Linked DNA regions of Homo sapiens: regions 1, 2, 3, 4, 5 and 7 are each linked to region 6. Evidence: promoter capture Hi-C in 16 types of primary human blood cells and fetal thymus (Javierre and others, 2016). All regions are on one chromosome and are shown on one strand. Each heading gives the region's core, a stretch centred on a gene start or on the middle of the fragment in contact. The rest is flanking DNA. Distances are from core to core; before and after follow the strand shown.

Region 1 (3,140 bases), core at 97-2,596, 440 kb before region 6:
AGTGCTGGGATTACAGGATTGAGCCACTATGCCCAGCCCCAGTGCCAGCCTCTTAATGTTATCCTTGGGAAGTAAGAGTGTAGCTTGACTATGAAATAACATGAAAGTACAAGTTAACCTGAGGTAGGGGAATGAGACTAGAGAAGTTGGTGCCCAAGGAGCTCCTGCATTGCTGAGGGGCTGTGGTTTCTCAGTGAGCTCAGAGAAGGGGTCTAGGCAGCTCATCTCCCTTTGAACTTCTTCCCACCCCCCAGCGCAGCAGAATGTGCTGTCTGCTTTCACCCAGCTTCCTCCCTGGGAAACCAGGCAGCCCAACCCTCAGCAGCCGAACTCCCTCCTCCATATATCCCCGTGGGCTACCAGGCAGGCCCTGGACAAAGGCCGCCTGAGCAGGCCAGGCCCCTCCCATCCCACCCTGCTGTGTCAGGGCCTGGCACACTCCTTAGTGCGGTGTCGGCAGCTACCTCTGCCAGCGCCTGATCACCTTCCCAGGATAAGCCTGGCTCTGGATGGTGAGTGAGTATGCCTGCCTTCCCCTGTGAGTGCCAGCCCAGGCACTGGCCACGCTTGGGGGAAGGGGTGGGGAACTGTGGCGAGGCTGAGCTCTGCAGAGATGCCTACGGCTTCAGAAAGCAGCTGGATCCACAGACTTGTCCCCAAACCTCTGCGCCCCTCTGCCCCAGCCTCAACTCAGCCCAGATCGTAAGGAAGCCTCAGGCTCTCAAAGTGAAATTAAGTCCTGATCTGATAGAGGGTCCACATAGGGGAAATCTCTACCTGGGGATAGAAGTTAGGCAGGGATATCTGGCCAAGCTCACCCTCCAAAGGCAGATAGGGAACAGGTATCAATGAGCACCTGGCAAAGCTCACAAAATGTTGCTTACTAGCCGTCCAGAGGAGACCTGCTTTGATCACTAGAAGAGAGTGCTTTGCAACTGGCTTCTCAAATATTGCCCACAATAAGGTCCTTTGATGGGGGTTTTGAAATACTGAGGTGTCTGGGTTATAGAATGTCTTTACTTTCAATATTCCACGTCAAAATGCAGCCTTGCTAAGATCTGCAGGGAACCTGCTGTAATGTGGAGCGGAACTTGCTTTGTAATTAGCATAGCAACTGTTCCTGTACCAGTGGGTACTTCTAAAGTGACTGAAAACAGTTTGTTCTCATTTGCAGTATGAACAAACCTCCTGAAAGCTTGTTTACGCTGTCGGATTGTAGAGCAAAACAAAAACAGCCTTTATTCCCAAACAAATAGCGGAAAGGCAACATTTAGACCACAGCCATTTACCTCTCAGAGCTCTTTGGGGCGAAGTTGACACTGTGACAAGGTATCCCAGCCCATCTTTTGGCCCTGGGAAAGGCTAAAATTGGGAAGGAAATGCGTTTATGTTGGTTGTGGTTCTGAGGGCACGTCTGTTCCCAGCTAAACTCCTGCAGTCAGCAGATGCCCTGAAATAAATCAAACCTCCTCATGCTGTTGGGACAGCGAAGCTTCGTGTACACCTTTTTGGAGGGCAATTTAGCAATAGCCTAAAAGAAAATGCACATACTCTTTGGCTCAGCACTTTGACCGCTAGGAATTTACTACAGATTTCCTTGCTGAGTGAGCCAGGCTGCGTGCACAAGTTCATTGCTACATTATTAGTTATGCTGAAAATGGAAACAACATGTCTACCAACAGGGGACTGCTTCAATAAATTTAGTGGGAGCCATGTGATAAAACTCTAAGCAGAATGAGGCAGGGGAGACAGAGAGATGTCCAAGCTGTGCTCAGTGGGAAAAGCATTGTCATATGATGCTGCGTCTGCTGTATTTGCAGGGAATATAACTAGGACCATAACACAAAAACCGGCACACAGGGATGATCTCTTCAGAGGGGGTCTTGGTACAAGGGGAGGAGGAGATTCGAATATTTTTTAAACTTGTACTTTTTTTGGTAGTTTAATAAGTTTAAAATTGAAAAACATTGTACAAGGATTCACGTTTTTCTAGTTCTCACCCCGGGTGTTTCTCCTGTGACTTGTGTGGTGAGATCAAGGGGTTCTAGAGGCCCCATCCCAGAGCTAAGGAGTCTCTGGGATGAGTTGGGGCTTTTTATCTATTATGATAAAACATATATAATGTAAAATTTGCCATTTCAACCATTTTAAGCCTACAGTTTGGTGGCATTAATTACATTCACAATGTGCAACCGTCACCACTGTCTATTTTCAAAACTTTCATCACTTAGGCTTCTTTTGACCTTGAGCTCTGTGGCATGGGGTCTGCGAAGGCCCTGCTCTCCCTTTTCAGAGAACAACCTGTAGCCAAGGGTGTTCCAGCTGTACCTTGTGGGCTGGGATGAGGACTCTGTTCCCTCTCTTGCCTGGAGCTGCCTGAGCTGTAGGTGACAGGTCTTGTTTCTGAGTGCTCCAGGGGCATAGGGCGGCAGGCACAGGGCTCTCTTTGAAAGGAGAACCGCCTTATCTTCCATGCCTCTGTAGGTTGCTGGGGGTCTAGCTGTGGGACTCTGGGGAAAGGCGGGTCTCCTGCTTCCTGGCCTTCCCTCTCTGAGCCTCAGTTTATGCTCAGGAGGAGCAATGGGAATGGGGCTTCACCTTGGCTACCTCTCTGCCCTTTCAGACATCACGGCTGCAGCCCTGGCTACGGGTGCCTGCATCGTAGGAATCCTCTGCCTCCCCCTCATCCTGCTCCTGGTCTACAAGCAAAGGCAGGCAGCCTCCAACCGCCGTGAGTATTCCTCCCTGCCTGGGGTGGGTGGACGGTGCGAGTGACCTGCTCCAGCCCCCAGTTCAGCCCCTGGGATTCGCAAAGGCACGATGCAGGCACAATTCCTTTTCATTTGAGAGTTGGGAGCAGCTGCACTTCCCGCCAGGAGCTGGGCGAAATGGCCGAGAGAAAGGAGGCATGCCATTTCCGGGGGCCAAGTGCCCACCAGCCCCTTTGGCTCCCAGGCAGTGCTGGCTCGGCACTCAATACATGTCTTCTGAATGAATGATCATATGCAGTAGCTCAAGTTGCTTTATAAAAGCAAGTTGCTGCCACTCAGAGATCCTTGGGGGACCTGTTTAAGGTATGGGCGTGCTTGTTTTGTAATTAGTAGCAATTGTTGGGACAAAAAATGATCTTTGGAATATCA
Region 2 (3,222 bases), core at 1-2,500, 460 kb before region 6:
GTAGCGGCCGTGGCTGATCTCGTAGTCCAGCTCTTTGGCAGCAGTGATGACACCCTGGGGGACACAGGGAAGGGACAAGGATGGATCTAGGGGTGGTAGGTCTGCAGCACCCTCTGACCAATTTGGGAAGTAGGCCCTGACATTGGAGCTGTGATGGGGAACCACTGCCACCCCCTAGCCCAGGCTCCACTCCACCAAACTTTTCATCCTCCCACACTGAGTGCCCCCACAGTTTCCCCTAGACTGCATCTTTGCTCCATCCCCCTCCAGTGTCACTGAACTCCTTGCCAATCCCTGGATAGGTTTCGCCCCTTGTCTTGATCCTGCCATCAGCTGCTGACCATGTGTCTGTCGATGCGGAAGGTGTTGACGATGTTGCCTGCGACGATGGCATAGGTGACTGTGCCGTTGGGACCCTCATCCAGGTCCAGTGCCTGGATGGTGATGAGGCTGGTGTTGAGCGTGTCTGGGCCCTCATCCAGCAGCACCTCATAGTGGGGCTGCTGGAACATGGGCGCGTTATCATTCTCATCCACAATGGTCACGTACACGTGCGTGGTGGCCTGTGGAAAAGAGTGGGTCACGTCCTTGGTCAGGTGGCCAGAGGGACCAAGGTGGATCCAGATGGCTGTTCTCCTGGGCTGAACTCACTCCATGTGACTCAAACAGAAAGGGCAAGGAGAAGAAAGCAGGGGGTGGGTCACAGGCTGGTAGAGAGAGAAAGCTCAAAAACTCCACCAAAAGCCAAGTAAGGTAACTGCTCTGTCCAAGATGGCACTGGCACCACCACTCCTATGTCTGCGACCCCCAGCAGACATCACTAATCAATCACAGAACTGCTGAGGCCAGATGCAAACTTGGGATCCTTGTTAGCACAGTGGTCTAGTGATTAAGACTGGCATATGGGATGAACCCTGGTAGTCACCCCAGCTCAGAGCTTTACGAGGGCCTGTGTCTTATTGAGCCTATATGTCCTGCCAGACTACAAGAGGCAAGAATGTGAGGCACTCGGCCCAATGCCATATTTAACCTTCATCTATTGTTCATGTAAATGAAAGAAATACATATTTTCAGCATTTCCAGAAGGAGGACATTGGGTTTGTGGCAATTTCGTGGGCAGAACTTGTTGACCTGTGAAAAATAAGACTCACAGAACATAACTTCATTCCAAGAACAGCTTCTACAACATACTCTCCTGTGATCGGCCATCTCTGCCAATGCTTGAGTCAATTGGACCACAAGTAATATTCAGCTAATCAGAACTCGGCAATCAGCACTCAAGAATCAACTAGAAATGGTTCTTGCTCCTGCTTCCTGCCTTTCTCCACCTGGGAAGATGTCCCCTGTGGACTAACTGCCTTACCCTGGCTCCCTTGCTATCCAGCTTCCTGCTGGGTGTGGCCAATGGGAGGCCCTGGCTGAAGATGAAAGCAGTGGGGAGAAAGAGGCGGGGGTGTTTCTTCCACACTCCCTCCATTCCTCACTGCGGTTCTGCCCATGGCTGTGTTTCTCCTGCTTGGGGACAGGGGTCCCCCTTTCATAGCACCAGCTTTCACTGGGCTCCAGAACATCACTTCCTCTTCTTTCCCTTTGGACATGTGAGTGGTAGTGGCTTCCTGTGGTTGGTGCTAGTCTCTGGGTGCTTTACCAGCCTTCCTAAACAGTCCCTGTATTAAACTCTCTTCAGTTGAACCCTTTCTGAGTGTGCCATCTGTTTCCTGCCAGGACCCTAACTAATACAAATCATAATGAGTGACTAATATAAAATAATAAGGTGTTAATCACTGCAAAGGTGTCTGGGTAGAGAGAACGTGACTAGGCCATTGCCAGGCCAGAGAACAGAAAGCAGGTGGTACAGACAACTCAATGTAGGCAATTTGCATATGGTTTTTTCCTTGGGACTGGCTGGCTCTGGAGCTACCACTGGAAGAATGGACAGATGGGCAGGGGATCTGGACCCAAGAAGGCTGTCACTGCCCCTGAGGAGGCAATGATTCCTCTGATATGCAGCTCTGGATCTTGGGGGTGGAGGGCATTGGGTGTTTGCTGAAACGGTTTCCAAAGCAGATAGGGTTGGCAGCCTTGAAAAGGAGCTGCGTGGCCTTGGGCAGGTCACATCCCCTCTCTGGACCTTTTCTGTCTGTTTAATAAAGGACCTGGCTTGATTTCTAAAGTTGTTTCTAGCTCAGGGAGTTTGGGAGGTGAGTTTGGGAATGTGGGAAATGTCAGCATCCCCTCCCCAACAGGGAGGCTGGAATTCAGCCCCTTTCCTGCAATGTGGTGCTCTTGTATTCTTGCCGGCAAGTAAGGGGACTCAGGAAGGCTCAAGGCTGGGCCCCTCACCAGTAGAGAGTACTCACAGCTGCCTCCAGGCCCTGCAGAGCCACAAGATGGACATGGTGGCTTTCCTTGACAGTCATCTTTATTCGAATATTTGGGGCCTTCACCACTATTTTTAATGAAAACAAGCACAAACACATGATGGAGTGTGCAGGCTGCAGGGGCTGGGAGTGGAGAGTTTGAACAGAGTTGGGCCTTGGAGCCCCTCCTGCTCTGAGACCAGGTCTGGGCTTGGGGAGGGAAGGTGGGTTTGACTTCCTCTGGTCTCGGAGGGAGGAGAAAGTCAGTGCTCCAAAGGCCCTCTCAGCTGAGCCCTTCCTGTCCTGCCCTGGTGTTGAGGAAACAGTGCTTGAGGTTTCTGGACCATGGTCCTTGGGCAATGCCTGTGTCTCACCCTGATGCAACCCCAGGAGGCTCAGTGGTGGGCAGTGTGGTAGGGAGAAAGGAAGTGAAAAGGGGGGAGGGAACTGGGCCCAGCTCAGAGGCTCTATCCCCCTGGGGAAGGGGTTGGCAGGGCAATTGCTCCCCTTTCTCTAATTCCAGGCCCTCCCCGGCTGCTAGGCCCTGGGGAAGAGGGAGTCTGGTTTCAAGGGTGTCCTGAGCAAAGCCAGTCCAGGAAGGGTTGAGATGGGGTGGTGCTCTAGGATCTTGCCCTTAAGGGACCCCCCTCACTTGCCAGAGGATGTCAGGGTGAGAAGGGCCCGGTGTCCACCTGATCTCAGTTGGCTTTGTACCTCCCCTGGTGGAAGGGAGCTCATGCTATGCCAGCAGGAAGGGCCCTGGGCTGCCTTCCAAGGTGGGGTCACAAGGCCAGGAGCATGCCCAAGGACCTGGGTTATGTCCTGCCAGCCTCTGGGGCTCCCATCCTGGGGAGTTCACTGG
Region 3 (3,362 bases), core at 1-2,500, 400 kb before region 6:
TGCCAAAACCTGTGGTCTCCCTCAGAGGCTGGGGGTGTGGGAGACAAGGGGACGTGTATGTCTTTCTAATCCCCAAGAGGATGTCCGACCGCTGATGGCCCCTGCAGCCCTGTCCAGGACCAGCTCTGCCCCGATCCTCCTCCAGGTTCGCAGGGAGGCTGGGGGAGAAGGTGAAAGATGGCACTGCAGCTCGCTGGGTCCAGGCTTTCTCAGGCTGTTCCATCCCTCCACATTCCCTACCCGGCAGCCTTTCAGAGCCCAGGAGCCTCTCCCAGGGTGGCTGAACTGCATGGCTACTTCTTGCCCGCATTTCCTTGGCCTGAAGTTATTCTGGCCACACTGGGTCCCAGCCGGCACTGTACACTGTAACGGTCACTTCGTGGAAGCCCAGGAGCCCTCCTCCCACACAATGGCTCCATGCTCATTCACACGCACCATCACCCCAGTCTAGCTTCAGATCGGCCTGGCTGGCGTGGCTGCGACTCAGGCTTATGTGTTTATGTGTTTCCTCTGGTGGGCTTGTGTGTGGGGGGGGACGTTGTTGTCACTCTGAGACACTGCCTAGTGCTCAGCCCTTTTTACAAGGAGTGCAGCCTCGAGGCTACTGGCAGAACCATAGCTGACCCCAACATGAGTCCTGTCAAGCCAATAACTGAATACCTACTTTACCCACTGCCCACCCAAAACAAGTGGAGAACAAACACCCCCCAGGGCAGTGCAGGAAGAGGCTAGACCCTCCTATGACATGCTGTCCTGTTGGATCTGTGGTGAATTGCTTTGTAAGGCCCTGGGCTCTCCCACTTCTTTTGGGTCTGCCCCTTCTTGTCTCACCACCTCTCACTTCAGCCCTGTGGTGTGCATGGGAGCTGCCATTTTCTTCCTGACCCTGCCAAGACGGTCAGAGGGGATTGGTCCAGGACTGGGTGCCTGATCAAAGCTGAGCCAATCACATTCTTCTCTGGGATTGTTGACCTTGGGCCCAGAGAGATTGAGTCAGTCTTTCTAGCAGTAAAATGTGGGAATATCAACAGCCCCTCTCTTGCACATCCCTGGGCCCCACTTCCCACCACTCTCTCCTCTTAACTGCCCTGGCACACTGGTCTCCTGGCTGTTTCTTGAACACCAAGCGTGTGCTGGCCTCATGGCTTCTGCCCTGGCTGTTTCCTGGCAAGCTCTCCCTCCAGATATTTGCATGTTCATGCCCTCATCTCCTTCAGGTCTTTGTTCAAATATCTTCTCCTAAGACCCTCCCTGAGCACTGCATATGAAATTATAGCCCCCACTCCAATGTCCTGGCCTTCCCTACCCCTGGTCACCCTCTGATACATGCTATCTTTGCTTATTGCCCATATCCCCACAGGAAGAAAGGGCTTTGTGCACTGCGATATCCCTGGTCTCTGGAACAACAATCCTGGCACACAGTAGGGTCAAATATGTGAACGACTTAGGAGCAGAGCTCCAGGGAGAGGAACTAGGCTGACACTCAGTAAGCACGAATGCAGGACACATACAACATTCAGCCCTGGTTTGCATCCTTGGGCCCAGTTATTCCAGGAGCCCATCTGTGCCTCGCTCCCTGTTTGATTTTTCCTTTGATCCTGTAGGGTATCCCAGTATTGCTACAGTACACTTCTCCTTCTGCCTAGATTATTATTATTTTTTTTGTAGAGACAGGGTCTTGCTATATTGCCCAGGCTGGTCTCGAACTCCTGAGCTCAAGCAATCCTCCCGCCTTGGCTTCCCAAAGTGGTGGGATTACAGGCATGAGCCACCATGTCTGGCCCTGCCTAAGATAATATAGAATGGATTTTCTTTCTTGCCACCCGAAGCCCTAATGTAGGCTTTCCTATCGTTGCTCACTGGACAAAACTGCAGAGAAGATGGGGATGGGTTCCTGCTAGCAAAGATCAAGAAAGCAGTGAAGGTGGGATTGGCTGAAGGTTTCCAAAGGAGGGAGCTGGGTTTGGAAGGATGGAGGAAACCTGGCTTAGCAGAGAAGGTTGGGAAGAACATTTGTGCTGGGAAACAGTGTTAGCTGAAGTAGAGGCAGCTGGGGAGGCTAAGGAAGGAACTAGGACCCCAGTCTGGAGTGAAGGGCTCATGCAGGGACAGCAGAGGGCTGTGGTTGGAAGAGTGGAATGACAGCCTCAATCAGCAGCACTGATGCCCTGGAACCTCCACAGGACAGGGAGTATAGACATGGTGGTATGAAGGCAGAGCGAGGAGCCTGTAGCAGGCGCTGGCCTCGATGCACATCCGGGCACTGCGGTAAGTGTGTCTAAGGATTCTGATGAGCATGTTGATGGTGGGGAGGAGGACGAGTACACTGGAGCAAAAAGAACAAGGGCCCTGGGTCAGGCACACCCAAGCATGAATTTAGGCTTTGTCACTTACTCTCTATGGCACTATGGATAAGTACTTTAGCCCCCTTGAGCCTCAGTTTTCTCATCTCTAGACTGGGCACAATGATGACCAGCCTTGCAGGGTTGAGGGGAAGATCAGAAGTCATCTTGCAAAGCGTCTTGGCTGGTGCCTAGCATGGGGATGTGTGGTGAAGGTCAACATGAGTGATGCCACCTTCTCCAGAGAGCCCTCTGGATTTATGCCAGAGCTGGGGATGGCTGGATTGCCCCTTGCCGTGCAGTTCTTTCTCTCTCCATTCCCTGAGAAACCTTAGGAGCTGGCAGGTGGAGGGATGTAACAGGGTGCTTCAATTGTCCAGATCTGGAAGGGCTCAGGATGGTGAAGAGAGCCACGTTGCCCAGAGCATGCCCTTGCATGCCTATCCATGGTGAGATTTCCTTGATGCCTCCCTGCTCCAGCAGCCTGCACCACCCTGGAAGCTTTGTCTTCTGTCATCTCAGGAGGAATGGGGGCCACAGATGAAGTGTTCAGTTGGTTTCAGGAGAGGAAGTTAAGGAAAATGAAGGCAGTGAATGCTGTGATGGAAGGTGCAGGAATCCCAATGGGGACTCTGGGCATTGAAAACACCTTTGGGCCGGATGCTTTGCCTACCCTGGATGCCTACTGCCTGCCCCTGCCCACCCAGCACAGGGGAAACACCAAGTCCCCCACCACTCACTTGCTGGGTGCCCCTGGGCAGGTCACACCTCTCTGGGCCTCAGTTTGGTCATCTGAGAGAAGACGGGGGCTCTTTTCTCTCAGAAGAGGAGTTAGATGACCCCTGAGGACCTCTCCAGCTTTAACAGTCCATAGGAAATCTCTTGTCCATCTTGGGGTTGGCAGACAGTGCCTCTTTTTATGGGCAAGGGCAGGAGGGAACAGCTAAAAACCAGAAACTGGGGCTCCAAAAAAGGGAATGGGTCTGAGGCTCAGGTCTTGGACAGGGCCATGACTCCTGT
Region 4 (3,419 bases), core at 249-2,748, 420 kb before region 6:
GAGTCTGGCCTGAGAGCTAGACTCTGGCCACATGTCATCCTGCCTTCATGAACGTCCAACCTAGCATGATACCCAGCAATGCCAGGGCAGATTGGAGTGGCTCAGTCTTAGGGCTGAATAATAAATACATTTTTTAAAAAAGCAAGCTCCCGGGGTAAACCTCAGTTTCCTGTCTGGTGAAAGGCAACTTTCTTCTTTTTCTCTTTTCTCTTCTCCTCTACTCCAAAAAGATACTGCATTCTAGGATCCAGGCTAGGCGTTAGGGCTATCACTACGAATGAGCCACAGTTCCCATCCATGAGATCTGAGGGACCAGTGGGCCAGGCAGACATTTAAACAGGGGCTGCATGGTTGGCTCGTGCCCACGGTCCCCCCGTATGTCCAGCTATATGGGCCCCGGGGCTGCCCTCACCTCATTCACACTGACATTGTATCCAAAGGGGCTCTCGATGACTGGAGGGTTGTCATTGATGTCCAGGATGGTCACCTGCAGGATGTGGTCCTTCTTCCGTGGAGGGGTGCCTCGGTCAGAAGCCACAACCTGCAAGGAGGAGGGCAACTGGAGTCAGGGCTAAAGCGTGGCGGGCAGGATTGGGAATATGGAGTCCAAAAGGGCTGTGCAATCAGTGGGGAGCATTTGGGAGGGCAAAGAGACTCACTGAGAACCCCTGGGTGGCCTGGCCAGCCCTGGGCTCTCCCGGCCAGCCCTGGGCTCTCCCCAAAGCCTTCACCTTCTGCCCCATGCTGCAAATGATTCTTGCCCAATCGTCGTCTGACTTGGGATCCTCGTTTGGAATCTGATTAACATGTACCCAAGCCTTGACCTCCTGACCTACCTCTGACTGTATTCTGGGCTGTGCCAGCCTTTGACCATGACCCTGGGCCTGCAACCTGACCCAAGGCTCCTGTCTTTAGCTTCAAAGGCCTCTGTCCCACGCACTCTGTCCCATGATCTCTGGCAAACGGGAAAAGAGCCTCAAGTAATATTATAAGCAATGAGCTGGCGCCCTATGGCTGAGCCTGTTCCTGGGAGCCTTGATGCAGTCATAAGTGCTGCAGGAGCTGAGCCCTCTGCAGAAGCGCAGTCCTGAGGTTCCCAGAAAGCCCTTGGCAAACATCCCAGCCATGGCCATTCTGCAATAATGATAGCCTTCGTGGCTCCTCAAGCCTGCACTTGCTTCTTCCCTCCACAGGGCAGGCCAGACGGGGATTTTTTTGTACATTGCATAGGTGGGGAAAATGAGGCCCAGAGTTAATAACCTGTCCAAGGCCACACTGTATTTGTAGAAGAGCTGGGGCTCTCCCAGCTCCACCAGGCTCTCCCTCATCCTCCTGGCTCTTACAGCAGGGGAAGACACCTCAACTACCTCCTCCTGGGTATCTAAGGTCCCTCCCAGGTTTCCCTATCCTGGGTCAGCCTCACTGTGCTCTTGGCCCCGATGGGTGCAGCTGGCCCCATGTTACTTGGTGACAGCAGGGGCACTGACCACCAGAGTGTGCTGATGGACAGGCTCTCTCCTGGATGGAGAGTAGTGACCGGTCTAGGCACTTAGCCAGTGGTCTCTCAGTCCAAGGGAGGCCAGGCCCCACCTGGAGGATGTAGTGATCCAGCTCTTCTCTGTCCAGGGGCCTGGCCACAAACACTTCGCCAATGGAGTCATTGGTGGTGACGATCTCAAAGGCCCCCGCGATGTTGCCAGAGGCCAGGGAGAAGACCACCTGTGGGGAGAAGAGAGGGTGAGGGGTGAGCAGGTGTGGAGGAGAGGTGGCCAGGTCAAGCCAAGGGGGACTCCCTGGTCCTCCTCTGCCCACGTGGGCCCTCTGTTGAGCAAGGGCTTTTGGGAGTGCAGTGTTTTAAGCAGAAGTGATTCATCTCCCTCAAAATGGGGGTGCAGGCCCATGGAGGTAGTGTAGCACCCATGGAAAGTTCCGGGGCTAGGAGATATCAGTATCCTGGCCTGGAAGAGTGGGGCTTGAGTCCCATGGCACTGACGTCTTCCCAGGGTAGAGGGGATTGTGCTCACGCTGCTGGGGTGGGCACACGCTGCGGCATTACCTGGACTCTACTTGGTTCTTACGGCAACCTTGACAGAAAGCAACTGTTCTCAGTTCACAGAGAGGAGGCTCAGAAACATGGAACAACCAGCCAAGGTCACACAGCTTGCAAATGCCAGAGGTCTGAACCTACACACTTTTGTCTCCAAAGCCAGCATCCCTCGACCCCCTAGACCATGCAAGCCATGCTAACACCCGCAAACACACGGCCTAATGCACGGAACAGATGAAAGCTGTGTGAACACTGGCGGGTTTCATCACTTCTCCCTCTGCACTCTGGGGTGTCCAAACCTGGAGCGACAGCAAGCGCCTCCTGCCATGGGGCTGGGCCTAGGAAGCAGGAGAGAGGACGAGCATGTCCTCTCAGGGAGCTGGGGCTGCGTGGGAAGGAGTTACCCGGAAAACAACTTCACTGAGGGGTTGCGCCTTGGCTGGCCTTCGGGCTCCATGTCCACATGACCCAGGCAGGGCCACCGGCCTGCATAGCTCTGAGGCAGCTCTGTCCCTTCTCCCTGACCACAGACTGGGTGATTGCAGGGGCAGAGACCGGAAGAACCTGGTGCTTGGTGATGGGGGTGGCTCAGAAGGCCCCTCCAGCTGTGAGAGCTGTGGGAGCCCCGCTGACATGGTGGATCCTGGCTGTTTCACTCGGTGGCCCACCTGCCCATTGCTGCCAGCATCAGGGTCCCAGGCCTTGACAGTAGCCACTCGCTGGCCCACAGGGCAGTCCTCGGGTATGCTGACCGCCGAGTCGGAGGTGAAGTCAAACCGGGGGCTGTTGTCATTCTCGTCCAGCACAGTGATGTAGACCTGAGGGTGAACGTGGTCAGAGACCTACAGCCTCCTTCCCCTCCTTGGCCCCAAACACCTGGGTCCCACCGTGGGTCCAGTAGGGACCAGATCCCCAGTGGGTTCTGGAACATCAGCAAACCCTCAGAGCCCACCGAAGCCTATCCTGACTTTACAAAGGAGGCCCTGGGCCCATGGCTCCTAGCAGTCTGATTGGTGTGGGGTGGCAGGTAGACACACTTAAATCTTGGCTAGGAGGGCAAGGGAAGAGGCCTGGTGGGGAGACTGTCAGAGGTGGTGGGGACAGGAGAACTGAAAAGCCAGGCCATGGCTAAAGTGGATGGAGGCTAGGAATGCTGGTCTAGCATGAGCAAAGCTTCCTGTTTTTCATGAAAAATAAGGAATCTAGATTTTAAAGTGAAATTGGCTGATGAGTAATAAAATTTAGAGAAGAATATTATGTGTGGGCTGTCCAAAACACATCTGGTGGCCAGATATTGCCCGAAGGTGTCTTTGTTTGCAACCTTGGGCTTAGAGGGAAGGAAATGGGCCCAGGAGCAGGAGGGGGCTGCAAG
Region 5 (3,400 bases), core at 530-3,029, 380 kb before region 6:
TGTGAGCCCCCAGAGAACAGGGTTTGGGGGTTGACTTGCTCTCACCCCGCCTCCCCTCCGGTCTGGGGGCTTCCTCGGGGACCGACTGCCGTTCCCTGGATTGAGGCGCTCCCTGCTGGGAGTTTGGGGACCTGCCAAAGAACACCATTCACCTCCTCCTACAGATGAAGAAACTGAGGCACAGCGGGCCTGTGGGGCACCACCAAGCTCACCCCCTCTGGCATCCTGACAAACAACCCCATCTTCTTCTAATGAGAACAGGCTAACCTGATACAGCCATTGTGTCTCAGGTATAAGCCCTCGTGACCGACACACAGTGATCACCACAGCTACTGTGTTTCCTGTGTCCAAGTTCCAGGGTGCTTCATACGTGTGTCTGATTGAGTCCCCACAGCACAGCCAGGCAGGTACTATTATTATCTCCATTTCACAGATGAGAAGCTGAGACTCAGAGAGGTTAAGCAGTTTGCTCCAAGTACACAGCACCCTGGTGCTGGAGATGGGATTCACATCCCCGTTGGTTGGACTCCACGGCCCATGCTCTTAACCAGGAGGGTCTCCAGTGTTTCTGAATGGCCCCCGGAGGGCAGAGGTGTTGAAAGGACTTGAAACCCTGGATGTCATCTCCCCTAAACCAGCACCTTCAGGATCCCTCTAATCAGAGGATGATGGAACAGGAGGCAAAGAAGCCAGGCCCAAGATCAGACCATGTGCTTGGCCAAGGGGTCTTGGGCAAGTCTCTTTAGAGCCCTGCAAAGTAGACAGAGGCCCCTCTACTGTAGTAAAGGGAGCTGATCCGGGGCTTATGAGAAGGCATGGGAGAGGCAGATGCCCAGGGCTACACTCATCTGGCCTTCTTTGTATTCTAGAACCATCTGCAGGCTTAGGGAATGGAAGGTCCAAGGTCCTGGGCCAGACCTCCATAATCAGGCCCTGAGAAACTTGGACATGACTTCCAGAATTCCATCTTTGCCTCTCTCCCTCTCTCTACCTCTGCCTTTGCCCATCTCCCTATCCTTTTCCTGCCACACTTCCCTCCACATCTCCAGAGCCTCTGTCCTTCAAGACCCAGCTCCTCCCCTGCCCCAGCCCTGCAAAGTTTTCAGCCTGGGCTAGGCTCCTCAGGCACCCACTGCCCACCTCTGGGCTGGTAGGAATGAGATGATAGAGACTCACTTGGTAGATGGAGACCCCCGCCGGGATGCCTTCAAGCACCTCGGCCACAAAAGGCAGGTTCTGAAAGGTGGGGTCATTGTCATTGAGATCCAAGAGGTTCACAAACACTGTGGCACTGCTGGTGGCTTTCAGAGGGGGCCTGCCACCTGGGAAGACCAGGGCGAGAAGGGGCCAAGGACAGGGTAAGATGGGTGCAAGAGAAAACGGACAGGAAGAAGGCAAGTGGTGAGAGGGTGGCAGATTCAGAGCCCTCCATCCCAAAGGCCCCTCCAGGAAGCAGCCTAGGCCTCACAGCTCCCCTCCCCAGCTCCCTCCGTTCCCTCAGGGTGCTCTAGGAGTCACAACTGGGGCGTGGGTATTACTCTACTCTTGGTGATCAGACATAGACCTCCTGGGTGGGCCCCAGGTACCCCAGAGGCCCAGTCACCAGGGACACCCGCAGCCTAAGGTGTGGGGGCCGTGAGGGGCGAGAGGGGTCCATACAGTCAGTAACAGAGACGACGATTTTGCGCATCAGCTCGGCCTCATGGGGGTCGGGGTTCTCCCGGTCCAGCATGGCGTGGGTGGTGCGGATCTTGCCCGTGGTGCTGTTGAGGCTGTAGAACTTGTTGGGTGGCTGGATGCTGTACACCAGGGTGCCATTCTCCCCCAGGTCTGGGTCAACAGCCACCACCTGCCCGGGAGGGAGCAGACCCCTTCACTGAGCCGCGCCTGGGGAGGGTGTCTCTGGGCTGGCCGGGAGTATCTGAGCTCAGACGTTGGTCCTGGGGAGGGGACATCCTGGCTCTGGCCCAGGAAGTGGGCATCCCCGCTGGGCCCGGTAGGGGGGTCCGAGAGGGCTGGGAGGCAGGAGTTCTCTAGGGGAGGGGCTGGGAATGGCTGGGGAGTCTGTATTCCAGCTAAGATTTTTGAAAGGATTTGAAACCCTGGATTTTGGAGACTGGGTTCCTCCTCATCAAACCCTCCCTCCCTTCCTTCCTTTGAAGCATTAGATTGTGACACCAGAGATGACAGGGCATGTGAAGGAAGCCATGGCTGGGGCCCAGTTTCAGAAGGTGGGACCCAGTTAGCTGGGGCAGTCGCAGGGCTGGGGGAGTGTTAAGGAAGGAGAGGGTGGAGCTCCCTGGAAGGGAGGTACATGGTCCCTGATAAGGGGCAGGGTCTCAGGACTGGACCTCAGACACTCTGGCCCCTTCAACTCCCCGGCCTACAGCCTGGTTCCCCACTTATAACCCCCACGTCATGAAGGGGTCAGTGCTCAGTGCCATCCTAACCCAGGGGCGGTGAACCCCACAGCCTGCTGTCCCTTAGTGTCCCAGATCCCACACAGCCAGGTCATAAACAAAAGGCAAAGGGCCCCCTGCAGCCTTTGAGGGCTCCTCATCTTCGCCGAGGCCCCCTGCGTGCACCGATCCCCCGCTCTGTGGGGAAGCTCCCTCGTCCTCCAACCGCCCTACCTTCCACAAGGAGAAAGCAGAGCCCAGAGAGGCACAGGCCAGTCTTAGGGTCACACAGCACCAGCCTTGGAGCTGACCCAGCTCCCAGCCTGGAGGCTCCTGAGGTGGCCCCTTACCCCTCGCTCACCCCCGACCCTGCATTGCAGAGGCCACTGTGGCACCAGGGGTGGACAAGATCAGTGGTGGTGGGGGGAGAGAGGTGACTACAGTCCCTGGGGCCACATCAGGACAGTGTTATTCTTAACTGCAGGACACTCGGTGATGACAGCCAGGCTTGTCAGCTCCTTCATCTTACTTGATGTGGAGCCTTTTGTGCTTTGGCAGCAGAATCTGTCCCTCCTCTGCTTAATCCCCAGCCAGAGGTGTCTCTGGGGCCACCAGACCAGAACAGACAGATGAGCTGCCCTGGCTGAGAACTCCCATCTGCCCCTGTCCATGGGTCCTGGGGAGGCCGGGGAGAGAGAGGCTGATGGAGGGCTGAATGCTGTGGCACCCTAGGCAGGCTTCTCCTTCAGAGAGGTGGGGGCAGCCCCCACTCCCACCAGGGACTGCTCGGCCCTCCTCTCCCTTCCCAGCCTCGCAGCACCAAAGGGTAGAGGAGGGGAGGTCCCTGCCTTCCAGGTCTGAGGTGTCCTTATCTTGCTGTGGGCACATTGCCTCAGTTTCCCTAGCCTCCATAAAGGGAAGCCCAACACCCCCATTTTGCAAACAGGAGATAGGGCTCTTAGGTACTCCAGGCATAATTTAAAACAGGCCAAGTCGTTTCA
Region 6 (3,305 bases), core at 169-2,668:
GCCAGCAAGTCTATTTTAAACTCCCCTGGTTAGCAGAGCCCCTCCCCAGCCTGGATTCGCATGGAGGCCAGCATTAACAAGCTCACTGTCTGGAAGCTCACTGTGTGGAAAATCGCTTTTTCCACATGCACCCACTCATAGAGGAAAAGCCATGTGAAGGCACAGCAAGAAGGAGGCTGTCTGCAAGCCAGGAAGAGAGCCCTCATCAGAAACCAAATCAACCAGCACCTTGATCTTGCCCTTCCCAGCCTCCAGATCCATGAGAAACAAATTTTGTTTAAGCCACCCAGTCTATGCTATTTTGTCTGGCACAAAATGGTACAAATGTAACAAGCTCACTTGTTACATTTTAAAAATTAGTGTTTAAAATGTAAAAAATAATCATGACCCACCCACATAGAACAAGAGAGAACCGGCAAGTGGTTCTTTCCAGAGGCTCCAGCTACCTGTGGGGGCGGCTAGAAGGTCCACCAGCCCTGTCACTCAGGACCACACCTGGCTAGGGCCCCCTTCTCAGTTCCTAGCGTCTATTTGTCAAGGCTTGACTGAGCTTCTGAAGAAGGAGCCAGGAATTTTCTCTAACCAGGGTCACAGGCCAGGGCACTGGAGTGAGCAAAGTCTTATTAGTCTTTATAAAAGCTAGCTGCTGGCTTCTGGATTAAAAAATAAAGAGAAAGGCAGGCAAGGAAGTGCCCAACCTTCCCCAAAACAAGCTGGCTGTGGCCTGGAACGTGCTCCTGGGTCACCTGCGGGAGCCCGGCCATGCACAGACAGACAGCCCCACACAAGGAGGCAGGCACTGCTGGGGCCGCGGCAAAACCTCATCTGGGCTGGGAAGCCTGGGTGCTGGTTCCAAGGAGGTTCCTGACTCTGGCTAGGTGGCTCGCCCCTCTGTGCCTCGATCTCCTGGGCTGTGAACCGGGGTGGGGAGCTGGTAGGGCTAACCTGTGGGAAGGCACTGGGAAGCGCAGGGCACCGCCTACTGGCCGCGGCAGAACCGGCTTTGCGGTGTAAACAGCCCCAGCCTCAGGCCCCGCAGCTGGGACCGAGAGAATCAGCCACCGTCTGGATACTTCGGGCCGACGGGTCCATACCAGGCCCCCACCATACAGGCGGTGAGGTCCAGTCTCAGGGAGGAGGAGGGGAGAGGATTTGGGGAAGAGAAGATAGAGACCCAGAAAGAGGGGTGGCAGAGAGCAAGGAGAGAGAGGAGGGACGGTGGGGAAGGGACCACGGATGGGGTAGGGTCCTGCGGCTCCCCTGGCAGCCCGCAGCCGCCCCCAGGGCCCGGGAGGGAGGTCGCTGAGCGCGAGTCTGGGGGCGGCCGGGACCGTAGCCGGAAGAGCCCGAGCCGGCCCGCACTTACTGTCGCCGCTGCGCCACGCCGCCGCTGCCTCCGGCGCACGGCCAGGACCACTGGGCTTGGCAGGCGGCAGGCGGGCTCCTCCCCCGGCCCCGCCCCGCCCCTCGCGGCAGCACGCCGCCGCTTCCCCGTTTGCAAACACGCTTTTTTCCTTTGTCTTCTGCCGGCGCGCCGGGGCTCCCCCTTCTGGCGCTGAGCTGGGGCCTGCGTGCGCCCATTTTATAGGAGAAAAAGTGAGTCACCCAGTCTTAAACGCACTGCCCATGCTTGCGATGGGTGCGCTGCGCATCAGGCCTTTTGGTTGCTGCTCCTTCTTTACCTTGGAGCCAGACCCCACTGTCTCAGACCTCCCCTTTAGCTACTATAACCTGCACCCCAGGACTCAAAGGAGCCCTCATCTTGTCCCCAGGCCGCTGCAGAGACCCCTCTCCAAAGGCCGCTTCTACCCTTACCGGCTGCCGCTGCTCTGGAGGTGAAGCGGGACCCACACCCGGACTGAACTGGGCCTCCCAGGCCAGGCAGCTATTTTCAGTAGACCCAGAACATGGCAGTCAGCAATTCCAGCCCTCACACTTGACCTCAGCCATAGCGTGTAACACACAGCTGCCGCGTGTTCTTTAAGAAAGCAGGGGCCGGGCGCGGTGGCTCACGCCTGTAATCCCAGCACTTTGGGAGGCCGAAGCAGGCGGATCACCTGAGGTCGGGAGTTTGAGACCAGCCTGGCCAACATGGCGAAACCTCGTCTCTACTGAAAATACAAAAGTAGCCGGGCATGGTGGTGCGTGCCAGTGATCCCAGCTATGTGGGAGGCTGAGGCAGGAGAATCGCTTGAACCCGGGAGGCGGAGATTTCAGTGAACCGAGATGGTGCCACTGCACTCCAGCCTGGAGCCTGGGCGACAGAGCAAGACTCCATCTCAAAAAAAAAAAAAAAAAAAAAAAGGCGGAAACCTTCCTGACTCCCGGTCCTGGCCCAGTTGGCCTATTCAGAGCGGGGATCTGGATGCTTCACAGGGCCTGAAGATCTGTGACCATGGATAGTAAATTCTTGCAGTTGCCATCCCAGGGCTCAGGGGTGCCACAGAACCCATTGAGGCTGTCAGTGTGTGGACAGGTTCTCAGAACATCCCCACTCCCTGCCCCAGCCTCTCATTTTATAACCACCATTCCCCAAACACTGGCCTGATCATAAAAGTCTCGAGTACACATCCAGATTCTGGGGACCTCTCCCCAGGAGGGTTGCTGCCACTCCCCAATCCCTGAGGGTGGTGCTGTATCTGCTTTGTTTGCTCTTCCCTCATCGTGGGCACATAATTTGTGTTCAATAAATACCTGGATTAATACAACCCATCACTCAGGGGGTGCAGAATGGGGATCCAGAATGGATCTATTTAACAAGCTCCACCAGCAGGCGAGTTTGGAGACTAGCACCCTAAATTGTCAGAAAGCCCCCCGGCCCAGGAGAGGAAGGGGCTTAGCTCCAGGCTTACAAGCTGAGGGATAATGGTAAAATTACTAAACCTCTCTGAAACCCAGGGTCGGCTTAGGACTGTCGGGAGAATTAAGTCAGGTGATCCATGCCAGGCACTCAATGCAAATTTCCATCACTTCCAAGGAAGACACTCCCCACCCCCAAAATGTGATAGTGTATATGTTAGTTTAGTCATCAGGCCTTATTTTTAGCCTCTTTACGTTGGAAAAAAATCCTCTAATATACAGAGCATTTTCATGAACAGTCTCCCATTTGATTCCACCCCCCCACCCCAGTACCCAGTGAAATGGGACTGTTGTCCCCATTTTACAGATGAGGAAAGCCAGGCTCAAAGAGGTCAAGTGGCTTCCCAGGGCACACAGCTGGCAGTGATGGAGTGGCAGAACCCAGAGCCAAGGCTCTTTTTGTCATGCCCGGTTACAGGCAGGCAGGTGAGGCTGAGGGGAGCTGG
Region 7 (3,451 bases), core at 178-2,677, 480 kb before region 6:
GAGAGGAAGATGCCCAAAGACCCCAAGGAATGGGCGCAGGTCCTGGACCCAGCCTGTGGCCTGGCCACCCACCTGGTAGGAGGGCTGGTCAAAGATGGGGTTGTTGTCATTGATGTCCACGATTTCCAGGTAGACAGGGATCTCAGCTGCCCGGGGCGGGGACCCGTTGTCTGAGGCCCTCACGGTAAAGTTGAGCCAGTGCACCTCCTCGTAGTCCACTGTCCGGTTGGCAATGACCTTCCCTAAGACACAGAGGCTCCCACTGCCATTTTGGCCACTCCTCATTCATGGCAGCTCTCCAAAGTATGAGGAGAAAGACCTGGACTCCGAGGGGCAGCTGTGGTCACTTGAAGGAGGGTGGTCAGGCAGCACCACCCAGTTGCAGGGCACACGGCAGGGAGGGACTGGTGTCCAGTTTTTCTTATGGAGGGTGAAAAAGCTTCTCCCAGTCACAGGAATGAGCATCAACTAGCCCAGGACCTGAGACACCTCCTTCTTGGCCTTCCTGCTCCCTCGGTGGTACTAATAGTAGGAGCTTGGGTGGTGGGGTATCCCAGGTTTCCGGCAGACATCAAGAGGCTTCCATCCCAACCCAGGAGTAAGCACTCTGTCCCTTCCCCTGGTTTGGGCATCTGGAATCTGGCATGGAATGCTGGCCATCTTGGATCTGGCCCAGTCCACTGAGGAGCCACAGAGGGGCTGTGGTCTCTCTTGGGGACTAAGCAAGCAGAGATATATGTCCCCCAGCCCTCCTCTGACAGATTTCTAACCTACCTGCCGAGGAGTCCTCCAGCTGGACATACCCTGGGGGCACCAGGTCCAGCAGGGTGTAGGTGACCAGCCCATTAAGGCCCTTGTCAGGGTCCACGGCTGCCACAGCAATGAGTGTGGTCCCAGGGGTGGCCCCCTCCAGGATCCGCTCCATGTAGTAGGTGATCCCAAAGGGCTTGAACTGGGGCGTATTGTCATTGACGTCCAGGACGTTGACAGTCAGCTTGGCTGTGGTGGAGGCAGGGAGTGAGGGAGAGGGGAAGGACACTAGTGTGGCTGGGCCAGGCCTTCCTTAGCCTCAGCCAAGCCGGGTGAGCATGGCAGCATCCCACAGCCCCCCAGAGGCTGCCTGAGGATTGACCTGACCCTCAGGCTGCAGCACAGGAGGCTTTCCAGTGGTGTGCTCACTTGCTGTTCCATAAGAGGAAGGGCTAGGTGACCCTGGTGGAGCCCTCGGCCCTTCCTGTGCCCCGGTTTCCTAAACTGCTCAATGAGAAAGGGCAAGATAATCTTTAAGACCCTAGATCCTGTCTGAGCTGTATGTATCCCCTCTATGTAACCGGCCTGGGCCCTTAACCATCTGAGCCTCTGACATGGAAGAGATGACCAAGTCTGCCCTTCCTTCCGGAAAATGTGGGCTTCTGGGCTGTGAAGATAAGCAGTCATCATCTGCCAGGCCTGGCTTCCCCTATAGCAGCTGTCTGTACCTCATGGCTGAGGCAACTTGAGGCCACCCCATCCCCACTTCCCCCACTCAACTCTCGCTCTGCCCACACAAAATCCACCCCTCTGGCAGCCCCCTCCCAGCCCACGCCTCAGGCTGCAGGCAGGATGGCCTGGGCCCGATTGGCAGAAGGTAACACTGGGCCCCTCCGTTCTCCACCGTAAGTGCCTGCACCCCCAAAGCAGTGTCTGTGGCCTCAGGTTACCTCCCCTCATTCTTTGCTTCCTTTGTGCTAACCCTGTGGCTTCCTATAAGATCATAGGGTTCCCATCTCACATCCTACCCACACCCTGGTTACCAGTTCTGCTGGCTGAACCTAAGCCTCTGTCTAACCATTTTTTCTCAATCTGTTCCAGGCTCTACCAAGCCTCCTTCCTACTCTCAGCCTGGGGGTTCAGATCACACACAATTCTGAGCTTCTGGATCCTCCACTGCTGAGCTCTATGTAGCCATCACCACCCTGGGCCTCACGGTGGCTGCCACCTTTCATGCCTCTTGTGTTGCCTGACTCCTGGCCCCCAGAGCAACTGGGTCTTGTTGCTCCCTCCCTGGGGACAGACCAGTGCCTGTTCCCCACCTGCCCCCTGCCCTGATTGGCTCTGAGTGACCAATGAGAGATGTCTGCAGGGAACCTTACCATTTGGCACACTGACAGAGCGCTCTGGTAGGTCGCTGGCATTGTCAATCACTGAGAGAGTGACCTCATAGGTGGCAACCAGCTCCCGATTCATGGGGGACTTCACCATTACAGATCCTGTGGACCAGACCAGGCCAGGTTCAGCCTGAGAAGAACCCCCTAAAATCTGCCCTTCCCAGGGGTGCTCCTGGCCAAACCCTCCCAATCCCCACAAAGGATGACGGTCCCCAGTAGAATCTGGGACTTGTGGCTGGGGTGGGCCCACAGCCTCCTCATAAGCTTGGGTCACGTGGCTCTGCCCCTCCCATGATGCTTACTAAGCAGGTGATGTTGGGGAAGTTATGTCACCTCTCTGCACCTCTGTGTCCACATTTGTAAAACTAGATAATTACACTACCGACTGTCAACCCATCCTTTTCTCAATACCCTACTATTTTGAGGATTAGAAAAACAAAATGAGTTTCCATTTGTAAAGTACTTAGAACAGTGCGTGGCACACAGAAGCTATGTAACTGCTTGTTTAAAAACTGCTGTATTCCTTAACAATGCAAATGTACTTAACACTACTGGACTCTACAATTAAAAAGTGGCTAAAATGGTAAATTTCGTTATGTGTATTTTATCACCATTTAAAAAATGCTTAGATTCTAGGGAGATCAAGTTTAAAGGAAAGTCATGGTAGCTGAAAAGCCCTGAGGGGTTCCCTGGAGGGGACAGTGGTGGGACCGTCTGGATACTTCAGGCCCATCCCTTTGTCTTGATTAAATAGGGAGTGACATGGGCTGATTGTGGGACAGGAGCATTGGTTCCATGGCAGTCCTAGCAAGGGGTTTCCTTCTGTTCTACCCACTGCCTCCCAGAGTCCCTGCCTGCTCCCCAAATCAGAGAGGAACCCCCCAGAAGCATGGGCGGGGACTGGACAGACCTAGTTTGGCTGACCTCAGTGCTGCGTTTCTTGGGACCTTTCTTGTTCCTGCCTGTTAGAGGGCCTGGTGGCTTCTCCTCCCATTGGCTTCATCCCAGAGTGAGACCTCCTCTCCCTCTCAGGTACAGGGGTATCTGAGATTCCCTTCCCCCTTGGCAGATCCCCCTGCTGGGCTTCTGTCTTCCGTGGGTCCCCAGCCATGGGGTAGTCACTTACCCTGGGCCGCCTCCTCCTCCTCCTCCTCCTCCTCTTCCTACTCTCGCTCCCTGTCCCCCAGGCTGGGGAGCGAGGATGGGGAGAGGGCGGCTGCATTCAGTCTGCAAAGGCTGGGCCACGGCCTTGGCCCAGGCCCCACAGGACAGGAAGGGTGGTGGGGGTGTGGTGGGCATGGAGG

What was found. The method cuts DNA at HindIII sites, captures the fragments that hold promoters and counts their contacts. A CHiCAGO score of 5 or more calls a contact.
Region 1: a fragment that was not itself captured here is called in contact with the fragment with the promoter of SLC29A3 in region 6 in 5 of 17 cell types (total B cells, naive B cells, total CD8 T cells and 2 more); the score reaches 7.9 in total B cells.
Region 2: a contact is called between a fragment that was not itself captured here and the fragment with the promoter of SLC29A3 in region 6, in 12 of 17 cell types (naive CD4 T cells, activated CD4 T cells, non-activated CD4 T cells and 9 more). The highest score is 11.7, in naive CD4 T cells.
Region 3: a contact is called between a fragment that was not itself captured here and the fragment with the promoter of SLC29A3 in region 6, in 7 of 17 cell types (naive B cells, total B cells, total CD8 T cells and 4 more). The highest score is 9.1, in naive B cells.
Region 4: a contact is called between a fragment that was not itself captured here and the fragment with the promoter of SLC29A3 in region 6, in 6 of 17 cell types (naive CD4 T cells, naive B cells, monocytes and 3 more). The highest score is 6.6, in naive CD4 T cells.
Region 5: a contact is called between a fragment that was not itself captured here and the fragment with the promoter of SLC29A3 in region 6, in 16 of 17 cell types (naive B cells, M2 macrophages, endothelial precursors and 13 more). The highest score is 15.9, in naive B cells.
Region 7: a contact is called between a fragment that was not itself captured here and the fragment with the promoter of SLC29A3 in region 6, in 11 of 17 cell types (total CD4 T cells, naive B cells, naive CD8 T cells and 8 more). The highest score is 11.1, in total CD4 T cells.

What each region holds. Positions count from the first base shown.
Region 1 is chr10:71,754,950-71,758,089 of GRCh38, reverse strand. The region is part of intron 38 of CDH23 (cadherin related 23); the gene reads right to left. VSIR (V-set immunoregulatory receptor) reads left to right here. Exons shown (of 7, transcript NM_022153.2): 4 at 2,624-2,731. Among named protein-coding and RNA genes, the nearest start is that of VSIR, 17 kb to the left of the region's middle. RefSeq lists an enhancer at 1-495. The HindIII fragment of the contact is 297 bases long and covers 1,198-1,494 here.
Region 2 is chr10:71,775,021-71,778,242 of GRCh38, reverse strand. CDH23 (cadherin related 23) reads right to left here. Exons shown (of 70, transcript NM_022124.6): 39 at 342-563; 40 at 1-54. Among named protein-coding and RNA genes, the nearest start is that of VSIR, 3.1 kb to the right of the region's middle. RefSeq lists a silencer at 82-237. The HindIII fragment of the contact is 4,509 bases long and covers 1-3,222 here.
Region 3 is chr10:71,720,580-71,723,941 of GRCh38, reverse strand. The region is part of intron 28 of CDH23 (cadherin related 23); the gene reads right to left. It also overlaps a transcript of C10orf105 not described here. Among named protein-coding and RNA genes, the nearest start is that of C10orf105, 2.5 kb to the right of the region's middle. The HindIII fragment of the contact is 3,191 bases long and covers 1-2,845 here.
Region 4 is chr10:71,737,944-71,741,362 of GRCh38, reverse strand. It overlaps CDH23 (cadherin related 23), which reads right to left. Exons shown (of 70, transcript NM_022124.6): 35 at 2,716-2,865; 36 at 1,591-1,719; 37 at 413-541. Among named protein-coding and RNA genes, the nearest start is that of C10orf105, 20 kb to the right of the region's middle. The HindIII fragment of the contact is 3,448 bases long and covers 1-3,222 here.
Region 5 is chr10:71,700,471-71,703,870 of GRCh38, reverse strand. It overlaps CDH23 (cadherin related 23), which reads right to left. Exons shown (of 70, transcript NM_022124.6): 23 at 1,660-1,849; 24 at 1,177-1,322. Among named protein-coding and RNA genes, the nearest start is that of C10orf105, 18 kb to the left of the region's middle. RefSeq lists enhancers at 1,347-2,260, 2,261-3,175. The HindIII fragment of the contact is 7,797 bases long and covers 1-3,400 here.
Region 6 is chr10:71,317,372-71,320,676 of GRCh38, reverse strand. SLC29A3 (solute carrier family 29 member 3) reads right to left here and starts at 1,418. Exons shown (of 6, transcript NM_018344.6): 1 at 1,367-1,418. The coding sequence starts at 1,367. It overlaps LOC124902445 (a long non-coding RNA gene), which reads left to right and starts at 1,014. Exons shown (of 2, transcript XR_007062183.1): 1 at 1,014-1,115; 2 at 1,773-2,708. RefSeq lists a silencer at 1,172-1,621. The HindIII fragment of the contact is 7,819 bases long and covers 1-3,305 here.
Region 7 is chr10:71,795,902-71,799,352 of GRCh38, reverse strand. CDH23 (cadherin related 23) reads right to left here. Exons shown (of 70, transcript NM_022124.6): 49 at 2,133-2,249; 50 at 775-999; 51 at 73-242. Among named protein-coding and RNA genes, the nearest start is that of MIR7152, 6.9 kb to the right of the region's middle. The HindIII fragment of the contact is 1,972 bases long and covers 442-2,413 here.